3 separate regions of the Homo sapiens genome follow, and regions 1 and 3 are each linked to region 2. The links are contacts of gene promoters, found by promoter capture Hi-C in blood cells and fetal thymus (Javierre and others, 2016). All regions are on one chromosome and are shown on one strand. The core of a region is centred on a gene start or on the middle of the fragment in contact, and the rest is flanking DNA. Distances in the headings are between cores, read along the strand shown. Region 1 overlaps LPIN2 (lipin 2). Region 2 holds the start of DLGAP1-AS1 (DLGAP1 antisense RNA 1). Region 3 has its middle 16 kb from the start of SMCHD1.

Region 1 (4,118 bases), core at 1,561-4,060, 610 kb before region 2:
AAGTGTTTCTTCTCCTAAATGGAATCACTTATAATTCACTGTTTATGAAAACAACCCCAAAGGGACTGACGTTTTATTCAAAACCAAGATAAAATTCCTCTTGCTACCACTCTTGGGTTTTTCAAACATTTGTAGTTTAACTGCTCATTGGGTAATGGTTATATAGTTTACTCAAGTTCCAGTGTTTCATAATATCCTCATATAATCTCAAAATTCTAAACAAGATAGCTAGTGGCTGGCAATTTCACTGAACTGTGAGTGAATAACCAAATGCAAACAGATCTTTCCAGGAACAGAAGAGAAAAAACAAGGGAGGGTCTCCTGAGGTCAGACGCCCAGCTTAAAGTGACTCTCCCAAAGATAAACTTCTTTGAAGACTTGTCATTTATCTTTAAAATTCACACATTTTGTAGTCTATTGTGATAAGTCTATTTTTTTAATGTAAAAAAAAAAAAAAAAGAAAGACTAACTGGCCAAAGCTTTCTTCTTCCAAGTTCAAAGGTTAATGCAACACATTTACTGTAAGAATTAGAGGATGCTCAGTGTACACATCGCAGTTTAAGGAGCTTAGGACCAAACAACCTCTGCGGTCTAACCCTTCCAACACAAATGTTTGAGGTCAAGCTTTTACCCACTATTTGGAGACAAGAGAGACAATACTGAGAGTTGCCTGGCTGTAGCAGTCAAGTGCATCTGAACATTAAGAGAGTAAAGCTGAACAGCCTAATTTAGGATCAGAGTAATTATGGCCTGACTTGTGTCACAACTTTTGGACAACATTTTCAACAAAATAAAGCCAAAAGAAATGGAAAACCCTCTGTTCTGCTCAGGCAGGACTCCTGAGGCCTCAGTTGCTTGACAGGGGTGGAGGTCGGGGGTGAAGAGGGGGCCTGTTAATTGCCTAATTGTTTCTGTTTAAATGTCTTTTTCTTCTCCCATTTCACCTCTGAATAGCAGTTTGCACAGTGATGACACCCTTAGGTATACGATTTTCTGTTCTGGGGTTATATCACCCCCATTTCATTCAAACTCAAAAAATCCTGTTGAAATGCAAGTCTTACTATCATCAAATTTTAAAACACTAAATAATTTTCAAAGTGTAGTGCTTTAATCTTTTCAGAAACAAATTACTTGTTATAGACTCACAATAACAGGGGTGGCTCAGTGCATCACAACACTGAGGCCAAGTGAAGGTGCTGGAAGAAGCCAGTGCTGGGTTCCTATACTCCAGATCAAAAAGTGAGATAGCTTAAAGCTTGTCCCCCAAAAACAGCAACAAACAACAAATAAGGTGAGCAAGAGTTGATTATATCATTAAGACAATCCAAAGAAAATATAAGTGAAAATTATCACAAAATGTATCGGCATCATGTAGGAACCCCTCATCCTCACATTCCTTGACTTATTTTTTTCCACGTGGACATTTCAGGTCCATCTTTGACTCCAATTTTCTCTTCCATAGCTGGTTCCTCACAACAGTTCTAATTCAAGATTTTCTCGACCACCTGAAAAACTGGTGATGGTTGTTTAAATTATTCTGTTGCTGTGATCTCTTTCAATTACTTAAAAATTTTTTATTTAAAAGATATTTGTAATCAGCTTTACTTAGTAAATTACTCTTAGTAATTACTCTTCTTCCTGCCACCTTCTTCCATCTATAGAAACGAACGGCTGCTGTAATTTTAAGTGTACTTAGAATCCAGGAGGGTGGATCACTTGAGGTCAGGAGTTCAAGACCAGCCTGGCCAACACAGTGAAACCTCATCTCTACTAAAAATACAAGAATTAGCTGAGTGTGGTGGCTCACGCCTGTAATCCCAGCTACTCAGGAGGCTGAGGCGGAGGTTGCAGTGAGCCAAGATCATACCACTGTTCTCCAGCCTGGGCGACAGAGTGAGAGACTGTCTCAAAAAAAAAAAAAAAAAAAAAAAAAAGAATCATCATGAGTGCTGCCAGCAGGCCAGATGGGTAACAGTATAAATTACTTATCTGTAGCCTTAAATGGGTCCCCAACAGAATCTGGCAACCCTCCTTTGTTTCTGTGGTCAGCTCTCTCTCCAAATTTCTGGTTCTTTTTCAAACTTCCATGCTCCTCAACCTGACTATATTCTGCCACTCTATTTCCCCATCAGAATGTACAACATTCCATATTCTTGAATGCAGGCTCATTTATGCTCTTCAGGAGAAACGGCAAAAATGACTAATATACTTTGCTATGAGAATAAAGAATTTAGTTTCACAATGTTTAGAAATTCTAATGCTATACTTAAGTGTTATGAAGAATTTTATTTAATTGGTGAAATTTAAATTAAAATGAAAGTAACTGAATTCTTAAATTATTACACTCAGTGAATCTGCCTACTTCAATCTAAAGCTTGACTGAGATGTGTAAGAAAAAGAGAAAACCTGAAACACTGATACTCAGCTTTATATGTAAGTTATATTCTACACATACAGATGAATCCAATTCCAGATGGTGACGGTAATTGCAATCTCCAGTGAGGGTAAAGCCTCAATGCACTAAGTAGTAAAAGAAAAGGGGAAAAGTTAGTCAGCTTTGCTACTCTTTCAAGTTAAATGCTGGTAATGTCTAAGATTTAACCTTGTAATGTCAAGACACAGATAGGATTCAAAAAGCAAAGAGGCATCTGAAAGTTGCAACATGAGAAGAAATGCTCCCTCTTCTAAGGATAAAGCACCATTGAAACAGAACAAGTGTGACATTTCATTTTATTTTTCTTCCAGACTCAACATACTTTAATATAAAAAAGCTCTCTCAGGAACAGGGCATTTAGTTTGTGTAAAAATCTTCAGCCTTTGCAACAAATTAATTGTATTCAATTTGAAAAAGTATACTTCAAGTACAACATAGGTATTTATATTGAAATCATAGAAGAAAACACAATCCTGGCAGCCAAGCACTATTTATTTAGTATTTACTCTAAGCCATACCCTGGAATTAATCCTTTGCATATATTATCTCTGATCTACACAATTCTCATGAAAGACAGATTTGCTTTATCCCTATATTTTACAGATGAAGAAATGGAGGTTTAGAGAGAGGTTATGTTAAATATCCAAGGACAAACCAGCTAGAGCTCAAGATGTCTTCCACAGTACCTTCTTAGACTCATTATTTAAGCTGAAATTCAGATTTACTATGCTAAGTATTTCTAAAATCTCAAACATTATGCAATGCATCTAAAAGAAAAAAAATGCCTAGGAATAAATTTAACCAAGGAGGTGAAAGCTTGTACAAATAAAATTGCAAAAATCACTGAAAAAAAAAATTAAAGATAACCTCAGTAAATAGAAAGACATCCGTGTTCGTGAATAGGAAGACTCAATATTGTTAAGATGCCAATATTACCTAAAGCGATCTTCAAATTCAAGGCAATCCCTATCAAAATTCCAAAAGCCTCAAATTCATATGGAGTTACAAGGGGCCCTGACTAGCCAAAATAATACTGAAAAAGAGCTAAGTTGGAAGACTTCCATTTCTTGATTTCAAAACTTTCAAAGTTACAGTAATCAGGCTGGGTGCAGTAGCTGACGCCTGTAATCCCATCACTTTGGGAGGCCAATGCGGGCAGAACACTTGAGGTCAGGAGTTCGAGACCAGCTTGGCCAACACAGTGAAACCCCGCCTCTACAAAAAATACAGAAATTAGGCAGGTGTGTGGCAGGCTCCTGTGGTCCCAGCCACTCGGGAGGCTGAGGCAGGAGAATCACTTGAACCCAGGAGGTGGAAGCTGCAGTGAGCTGAGATTGCACCACTGCACTCCAGCCTGGGTGACAGAGTGAGACTCTGTCTCAAAAAAAAAAAAAAAAATTACAGTAATCAAAACATTGTAGTACTGGCATAAAACAGACATACAGACCAATGGAATAGACTTGAGAGTCCAGAAATAAACCCAAACATTTATGGCCAATTGATATTTGACAAGAGTACCAAATCCACTGCATGGCGGAAGGAATAGTCTCAACGGATGGTGCTGACACAACTAAGTTTCTATATGCAAAAGAATGAAGTTGGAACCCTACTTTACACCATATTAAAAAATTAACTCAAAATGGATTAATGACCTAAAACCATAAAACTCTTAGAAGAAAACATA
Region 2 (4,195 bases), core at 1,696-4,195:
GTACAAGTGAGATTAAGAATATATTCAAGAGGTAACTTGAAGCCACAGGCTATTTTAGAAAACAAAATGATGTGAAGAGGCCAAAAGAAAAAAAAGAAACTTGGAAGGACCTAAACTGGGGACATAAATGTATTTCTATTGTAGAAATACAGAATGGGAACGATTGGACTTATGGTTGTAATGTCAGGTAAGGTGTCTATTTCAGGAAAGGCATGTAGGATTAGAAGTATGGACCTAGGCCTGTTGCGGTGGCTCATTCCTGTAATCCCAGCACTTTGAGAGGTCCAGGTGGGAGGATCTCTTTGAGCTCAGGAGTCTGAGACCAGCTAGAGCAACATGGTGAAACCCATCTCCACAAAATTATCCAGGAGTGGTAGAATCCTGCCCCAGCCTTCCAAGTAGGTGGCACCTGTAGTCCCAGCTACTTGGAAGGCTGGGGCGGGAGGATTGCTGAAGCCCAAAAGATTGAGGTTGCAGTGAGCCAAGATCACACCACTCCAGCCTGGCGACAGAGCAAGACTACGTCAAAAATAAAAAACAAAAAATAAAAATAAAAAGACGGGGTGTTTCATTTGGAAAAGAAGAAAGGGGGGTTTTCAATTATTTGGAGGGCTCTTGCTTAGAGGATAGCATGGGCCTGTTTTGTATAAGTCCCCAAAGGAACAACAAAGGCAAGGGCTCAGAGAGGCATAAAGAATAATTCTCCAGGCATTGATTGTCCGTCCATAGAAGGAATATGAGGACCTCATAACAGAGGGAGTTCTCAGCCCCTGGACCTGTTCAAGCACAGACCAGCACATCTTTTGGCTGGGAGGCTATAGCAATTGTACCAACATCTGATAGGGGGCTCAACTAGATGACAAGGTTTCTTTCAAATTGGATGGTTATGATAATGAGTGAAATTTAGACAAGAATTTGCAAACTAGGGAGGGTCCCACAGAGAATGATGCTGAAGAGCTGAAGAAAGAAGCCAAAAAAGGAGGCCAGAGAAAGAGCTCCAACGAGGCTGTCTGGTAGCAATGATGAATGTTCTGCCATCTTGGGAAAGCAGCTGGCACTGATGAGGACAAAATAACTAATAGACAAGTTTGCTGCTGCTGCTTCCAGCCAAGCAGACCCCATAGTTGTGCACTTAACAGTGCATCATAGGGCTCCTGCTCCTTGCGGTGATGTGTTATGCTGGCCGGACTTTCCAACAAATGCCAGACAAATCAGCGGTCTGGCTGGAGTCCTCCACCGGCAAAAATGCGCAAACCCTGGCAACAACAAAGATGATGAGATGAGATTCAGTCCAGACCCGTGACATGCCATTAGATCTTCCTAATCACCAGAGAGCAAATCCTTACTCTGTGTACTGGACACTGTGCTAAGAACTTAATAGACATGGGGGCTGGGTGTGGTGGCTCACACCTGTAATCCCAGCACTTTGGGAGGCTGAAGCATAAGGATCGCTTTAGCCCAGGTGTTGGAGACCAGCCTGGGCAACAGAGTGAGACCTCGTCTCAAAAAAACCCAAACAACAACAACTAGCTGGTCATGGTGGTGCACGCCTGAAGTCTCAGCTACTCGGTAGGCTGAGGTGGGAGGATCACTTGAGCTTGGGAGGTGGAGGCCGCAATGAGCCATGACTGTGCCACTGCACTCCAGCCTAGGTGACAGAGCAAGACCCTGCCTCAAAAAAAAAAAAAAAAAAAAAAAAGAAAAAGAAAGAAAGAAAAAGAAAAAGAAAAAGAAAAAGAAAAAAAAGAAAGAAAAGAAAAGAAAAAGAAGAAAATAGACATGATCTCACATATGTGAAAGATCCCACTATCCCCATTTAACTGATGAAAATATTAAGGCTCAGAGCAGGCAACGGACATCCCTAACTCATCTAGAGATTCAGTGACAGAGTTAGAGTACTCAGGGCTCCAACTCCCATCTGACCATTAACTCAAACCACCTTTGTTTATCTCCCCCGCCCCCCGCCAGTAAACACTCTCTAGTAAACACCTTGTCCACTAAAGCACCGTGGTTTCCACGAGGGACTCCTTCGTGCACAGCCATCCTCACTCTGCAGGAACTCTTAAGTTTCAGTGAATGAATGAATTTGGAGTGGTCAACAAGGGGTGCACAGTTGCAACTTTTAAAATATTGCAGAAGGAGAGAAATGCCACAAAACAAAATGCACATGGAAAAATCACTACCTTATTTCAAAATATTTACAGCTTCACATTTAAGGCCACCCAAAGCGTGGCGGTCAGTGGTGAGAAGGCAGAGATCAGAGGCTGTTGGGGTGGGTCATACACCATGATTCCCGGCCCCCCTCTGGGAGATACAAGGTATCCCACAGTCTTCTCTCCCAGTTACATCCTCCACGGAAACCACAAGATGACTCGCTCAACTTTTTCTAAAGTAGAAAAAAATATGCTTGTGTGTGTGTGTAAGGGGAGGAGAGGGGATGTGAATGAAATGGAGGGTAGTGTAATAATTCCTGTAGTCATAAGACACGCCAGTTGGTAGTTGCTAGTATTCCAGACACTTCCTAACGCCAGACAAATGCCCCAAGCCTCGGCATGTCTGGCCTAGAGATCTATTCAACTGATAGCAGCCGCCTCTTCTGGGGAGAGCAGATCTTTCAGAAAGCACTGGCTGCGCTGCTAATCAAACGCAACATTGTTCTCAGCAAGGAGGAAGAATGGAAAGGTTTGTTTCAGAGTCACAACTTTATTTTTTTTAAAAGGCACCCAAGTTGTTTCAACAAGCTGCTACAAAACTTGGGCTTCCTGAGTGGAGGCTGTTTTGCACAGTGCATGTACTGTACAAAAATCCAGGCAGGGAGGGGTCAGAGAGTTCGTCATTAAAGAAAAAAAAAAAAAAAAGCCCCAGGCACTTGATGCCTGGAAATGATGTCAGACGCAGCCACTCCTCTGTTAGAACTACAGCCAAACAATGCGCAGGCAATCCACAGCAGCTGCCCCTGCAAATGTCAGCGCCAGCCCAGTCAAAAGAGCTTGAAACCTACCAAGCCGGAGGACTGTGCTGTGCCTCTCTCGCCCACATTTTCCCCAAGCACTCTCAGGAACCTGGCAACAGGTAACGTGGCAACCTTTGACTTATAAAAGGGCAAGTGGCACAATCTCAGGGAACAAATGGACTTTTTTTTAAAGCCAGCATCTCCCCCACCACTCCCACACCCCCCTCCCTCCCTCCCTCCCTCCCAACCAAAAGTCTGTAAAAAACAAAACATTGACGCGGGCAGTCCTACTCTCTAGTGTCCCCTTGTGGCCAAGCCTGGAACATCACATCTGTACGTTGCAATCTGTGGATCAGCTACGAGGTAAGTCGCTCTTTGGAAGGGGTGGAGGTCTTTGCTGGACTTGTCTTCCGAAAAGTATGAAGAGTGGAAGTCAAGGCTCAGAATGGCGTCCTTTTTTACCTTATCACCTTAACAAAAACTTCACCTTAGCTGCAGGGTTAAACCTCTGGGTTGGGGCTGGGGATTTTCGTTGTTGTTGTTTTAAAGCAGCAGCCAAGGCCATGTTTTTTAAGGTGGTGAGTTAAACGGAGCAAGAGCTGCGGTAGCCTTTTCCACCCAATCTCTTTCTTCACATCCTAGTCACAGCCAAGGGTAGGGTGGATGGCAGTGAGGATAAACAGCCCAGAAACAGGATTCCTGCAGGGTGGGACTGGCATTTTCCATTTTTATCTGAAGTTGTACTTTGAATGCAGACACCTTTCTCTCAGGCCAGAAGCACTGCTCATTTGTATTGCTGGCTTCCAGTTAGCCTATTTGCAAGGATTACTTAGGATTTCCAGACTGCAGGCCCAGCTACCCAGAGAGTGTGCCTCAAAGCCCCACCTCAAAGCTTTTATCTCTATGTGGCGGGAAACACCCACGAAAATGCCAACGGCGGTATTTGTAACTTGCCTTCTTCCTTTTGGGAACTGCTTTCTGCAGCTCTCTCTGCGTTAGAGGAATAGCTACAGCTGGGAGCTGCTCCAGCCACGCAGGAGGAGAGGGCACCCATTGAGAGGCGGGCACCCCTTCTGTCTCCCTCTGGCTATGTTAACTGGAAACTAGGAAAGGGGTTCAGATCAAAGTAACTGCTGTCTTCAGAAAGTTCCATTCATTAACTAAGTTAGCGGAAATTAAATGGTGTTTGGAGGAAGGTCATTTCAGAAGGCCCAGGGCCAGAGGCTGAGGTCTAAAACTTCT
Region 3 (4,528 bases), core at 934-3,433, 950 kb before region 2:
CCAGGAGTCTCCCTCTGTCGCCCAGGCTGGAGTGCAATGGCACAATCTCAGCTCACTGCAACCTCCACTTCCCCAGTTCAAGTGATTCTCCTGCCTCAGCCTCCCGAGTAGCTGGCATTACGGGTGCGTGCCACCACGCCCACCTAATTTTTGTATTTTTAGTTGAGACAGGGTTTCGCCATGTTGGCCAGACTGGTCTCAAACTCCTGACCTCAAGTGATCTGCCCGCCTCAGCCTCCCGAAGTGCTGAGATTACAGGCGTGAGCCATCGTGCCCGGACTTAAATTAACTATTAATAGGGATATTTAGAACTGAAAAATACACATTTTGAGGAATGTGACAAAAAGTGTCCTTATTTTTCATAATTGATATGGTTATGGATGGCTAATGACCTGTGTGCTATAGGATCTGTGTATCTTGTGTGGGGATGCTGCATTCTAACTCTAGAACCGGCCAATTGCCTTGTAAGGGGAGGATGAGTAATATAGTTTTAGAGAAGAGATTATTTCTCTCTAAAGAAAGTGAAACTTAGATAAGAAACAGAAATTTAGCCCGGGCGTGGTGGCTCACACCTGTAATCCCAGCACTTTGGGAGGCCGAGGCAGGTGGATCACGAGGTCAGGAGATAAAGACCATCCTGGCTAACACGGTGAAACCCCGTCTCTACTAAAAATACAAAAATTAGCCGGGCGTGGTGGCGGGCGCCTGTAGTCCCAGCTACTCCGGAGGCTGAGGCAGGAGAATGGCGTGAACCCGGGAGGCGGAGCTTGCAGTGAGCCGAGATGGAGCCACTGCACTCCAGCCTGGGCGACAGAGCGAGACTCCGTCTAAAAAAAAAAAAACAGAGAGCGAGAGACTATGTTTTTAGAACAGTTTTAGGTTCACAGCAAAATGGAAAGAAAGGTACCTCCTGCCCCCACACATGCCAGCTCCCTGGTTTTCAACATTGCCCACCAGAGAGCAGCATGTGTTACAATGAGGGAATCTATGCAGATACATCATAACCACGGAATGTCCGTAGTTTACATAAGGGTTCACTCTTCATGTTGCACATTCTTTGGGTTTGGACAAATGTATAAGTGACATGTATTCACCACTATGGTATCAGACAGAATAATTTAACTGCCCTAAAAATCCTCTGTGTTTTGCCTGCCCATCCCTCCTCTTCGCAGCCCTTGGGCAACCACTGATCATTTTCCTGTCTCCATAGTTTTGCCTTTTCCAGAAATGTCATATACTTGACATCATTCAGTATGTAGCCTTTTCAGATTGGCTTCAATATATTCTTTTCTATATCCATCACCTTTTTTGTCCCATTTGGTTCAGTGTTTCTCAAAATGTGGTGTTTGAACTATCTCTGTCAGAACCACATGAAAGTTGTTAAAAATATACATTCTCAGTCTCATATTTGACTGATTCAAAATATTAATATCTGGGTGTGGAACCTAGGAATTTGTATTTTAAACACACAGTACAGGTTATTCTTACACATACTATAGTCTGAACACCAGCAAAGTCTCTACTATGCTGCCAGGAATTAAGGTGGGGACGTATGTTCATAAAAGGTGATAGTGGCCGGGCGTGGTGGCTCAGTCCTGTAATCCCAGCACTTTGGGAAGCCGAGGCAAATGCATCGGCCTCCTGACCTGAGGTCAGGAGTTCGAGATTAGCCTGGGCAACATGGCAAAATCCTGTCTCTACAAAAAATACAAAAATTAGCCAGGCATAGTGGTGGGCACCTGTAGTTCCGGCTACTAGGGAGGCTGAGGTGAGAGAATCTCCTGAGCTCAGGGAGGTGGAGGCTGCAGTGAGCTGTGATTGCACCGCTATACTCCAGCCTGGGCGACAGAGTGAGATCCTCTCCCAACCACAAAAAAAAAAGTAATAGGATTTACCAAAAAGGAGCTGGCAGTGATAGCAATAGAAAGGGACCCCAAAGGGAAGATCGGGGCTTCAAAGTCTAGCTATTCTACAGAGCCCATGTGTAACATGTGTAAATTCCCCATCTATTGCCAATTGTATAGTTTTAATTTGATTGATATTGCAGGAGCTAGCGATTTCCTGCAGACTTTGACTCTTTCTCTCTGGAGAAGCCTAGAAATACCTTATGTATTATTTGACAACAGATGAAGCCTGAGGTTTTCATCTTGGACTACCGTTAAATCCTTACGAAAGTGACCTTCTTTGAACTAGACAATACCTCCTGTAACCATTTTAGTAGGATCTCCCTTGAGTTTCAGTTCTACCTTCTCCAAGTTCTACAAAGACTCCTCATCAGTATTTCATGTGGAACCCAAATGAAAGGTTGGGAATTGCTGATCAGTCTGCTGTGTGGCCTAATGAGGCCTGGACACCTGAGTGATGACACAGACACACAGGAGCCCCAATAATAATTTATACTTGCTCTTTGTCACACATGCGTGCCATGCACACCCTACTCTATGTCTCTGTATGGTCAGTCCCTCCTTCCCTCTCTCTTTTCCTTCCCTCCATATGCCTTATGCCATTGCTAATCTCCTATAGAAGCAAAACTCACGCTTTGTTCTGCTTCCAGTATGATTAAGCACATCACATACTATAGATAGGAACAAAATCAAACCACTTCACATTCTCAAGAAAAACTTAAAAGAATAGGGTCATCCTGACTGGTTCTGGTCTCCAAAATAATAAACTCTAAAAAATTTGCAGTGAGCCTGGATTCTCTAAATAATGCTGTCCCTGACTTTTGCTATGCTGATATGAATGATCTTTTTCTTTTTTTTTTTTTAATTTTTTGGAGACAGGGTCTCACTCTGTCACTTAGGCTGGAGTGCGGTGGCACAATCATGGCTCACTGCAGCCTCGACCTCCTGGGCTCAAGCGATCCTGTCATCTCAGTAGCTGAGACTACAGGTGTGTGCCACCATACCTGGCTAACGTTTGTACTGGGTTATAGAGAAGGGGTTTTGCCATGTTGCCCAGGCTGGTCTTGAACTCCTAGGCTCAAGTGATCCACCCATTTTAGCCTTCCAAAGTGCTGGGTTTACAGTTGTGAGCCACCATGCCTGGCCAACATGAATGATTTTTGCATATATGATACCTGTATGAGTAAGTGGCTTTTTTCCTCACCTTCAACAGGCTGATATAAATTTAGTGCCCTGATAATTTTGTCTTTCTTTCCATTTGAATACTTGTGTTTTCAATTTGCTGAGCCACTCTTTCTGGCTTCATCAGAAAGAAGTCTGACACCCTTATACTGACAGCAAGTTAAGTTTCTCTTTCCTGGTCTCTTTTTCTTCTGTTTTTAATTTTCAGAGTAGAATTAGGCTTTTTAAAATAATACATATTTTTAAACTGACAAATAAAAATTGTATATATTTACTGTGTACAACAGGATGTTTCAAAATATATATACATACCCTACTGGAGTGGGTAAATCAAGCTAATTACCATATGCATTACCTTATATACTTATTATTTTCATTATGAGAATCTCTTTCCTCTTCTAAATGCGGAAGTCTCCTGAGGATCTCTGTGGCACTCTCTTCCAAGCCTTTGTACTGTGCTCTTGGGAATCCCTTCTATTGCAGTAATAGCACTTCTCTCCCCCAGCTCAATGAAAGCATCATCATCTACCCAGTGACCTAAACCCTAAACTTGGGAGTCATCTGTGATTCCTACCTCTGCTCACTTTTTTTTTTTTTTAATACAGAGTCTTGTTCTGTTACCCAGGCTGGAGTGCAGTGGCACGATCTCGGCTCACTGCAACCTCTGTCTCCCGGGTTCAAGCAATTCTCTGCCTCAGCCTCCTGAGTAGCTGGGATTACAGGCACCTGCCACCACACCTGGCTAATTTTTGTATTTTTAGTAAAGATGGGGTTTCACCACGTTGGCCAGGCTGGTCTTGAACTTCTGACCTCGTGGTCCACCCACCTCAGCCTCCCAAAGTGCTGGGATTACAGGTGTGAGCCACTGTGCCCGGCCAATGAATGAATACTTCTAATAAAGTGTCACAGTTATTTCTGTTTTTTGCCTGTTTTTTTTTTTATTTTTAATCTGTCTTTTTAATCTTGTGTTCAGTGCTCATTGAATTGCCCTTTGTTGCATAGCTAGCTAGAAAGGGATTAGGTTTGGCACCTGGGAGCACAAGTCCTCACTCCCAGATCAATTTACTTGTCCCTAACACCATGTTGCCTCTTTAATGCTCTGCAAATAAAAATATTATAACACACCCCTCCTCTGAGTGCTTCTCTAGGCTCACAAACCACAGTTTCGGTTTCTTTTCTGATAATCAGTTTCATTTCTTCATAGTCACATCTCTTGCTGGCAAGCATCACGTTATTTTCCAGCAGCATGTTTCAAATATTGAAATCCCTCATCCTTGGGGAACTATAGCTGTTTAATTATTTAAAATAGCATGAAAATAGGTGTTTCAATCAACCACAGTATTTAATGTTTCTGGTAATAGATACCATCTGAGAAGGAGCTCAGTATATTTACTGATAAAGCACTTTGCCTCCAACTTCTAATTGACCAAAACAAGGTCTAT

What was found. Contacts are between HindIII fragments. The CHiCAGO score rates a contact against its expected background, and 5 or more counts as called.
Region 1: a fragment that was not itself captured here is called in contact with the fragment with the promoter of DLGAP1-AS1 in region 2 in 1 of 17 cell types (total B cells); the score reaches 5.8 in total B cells.
Region 3: a contact is called between a fragment that was not itself captured here and the fragment with the promoter of DLGAP1-AS1 in region 2, in 1 of 17 cell types (total B cells). The highest score is 5.8, in total B cells.

What each region holds. Positions count from the first base shown.
Region 1 is chr18:2,986,105-2,990,222 of GRCh38, forward strand. All of the region lies in intron 1 of LPIN2 (lipin 2), which reads right to left. Among named protein-coding and RNA genes, the nearest start is that of LPIN2-AS2, 21 kb to the left of the region's middle. The HindIII fragment of the contact is 876 bases long and covers 2,373-3,248 here.
Region 2 is chr18:3,591,169-3,595,363 of GRCh38, forward strand. It overlaps DLGAP1-AS1 (DLGAP1 antisense RNA 1), which reads left to right and starts at 2,946. Exons shown (of 3, transcript NR_024101.1): 1 at 2,946-3,072; 2 at 3,252-3,316. The region is part of intron 7 of DLGAP1 (DLG associated protein 1); the gene reads right to left. RefSeq lists enhancers at 2,586-2,705, 4,118-4,195 and a silencer at 3,703-3,997. The HindIII fragment of the contact is 5,788 bases long and covers 1-3,843 here.
Region 3 is chr18:2,637,557-2,642,084 of GRCh38, forward strand. No RefSeq gene overlaps it. Among named protein-coding and RNA genes, the nearest start is that of SMCHD1, 16 kb to the right of the region's middle. RefSeq lists an enhancer at 4,176-4,385. The HindIII fragment of the contact is 5,288 bases long and covers 1-4,528 here.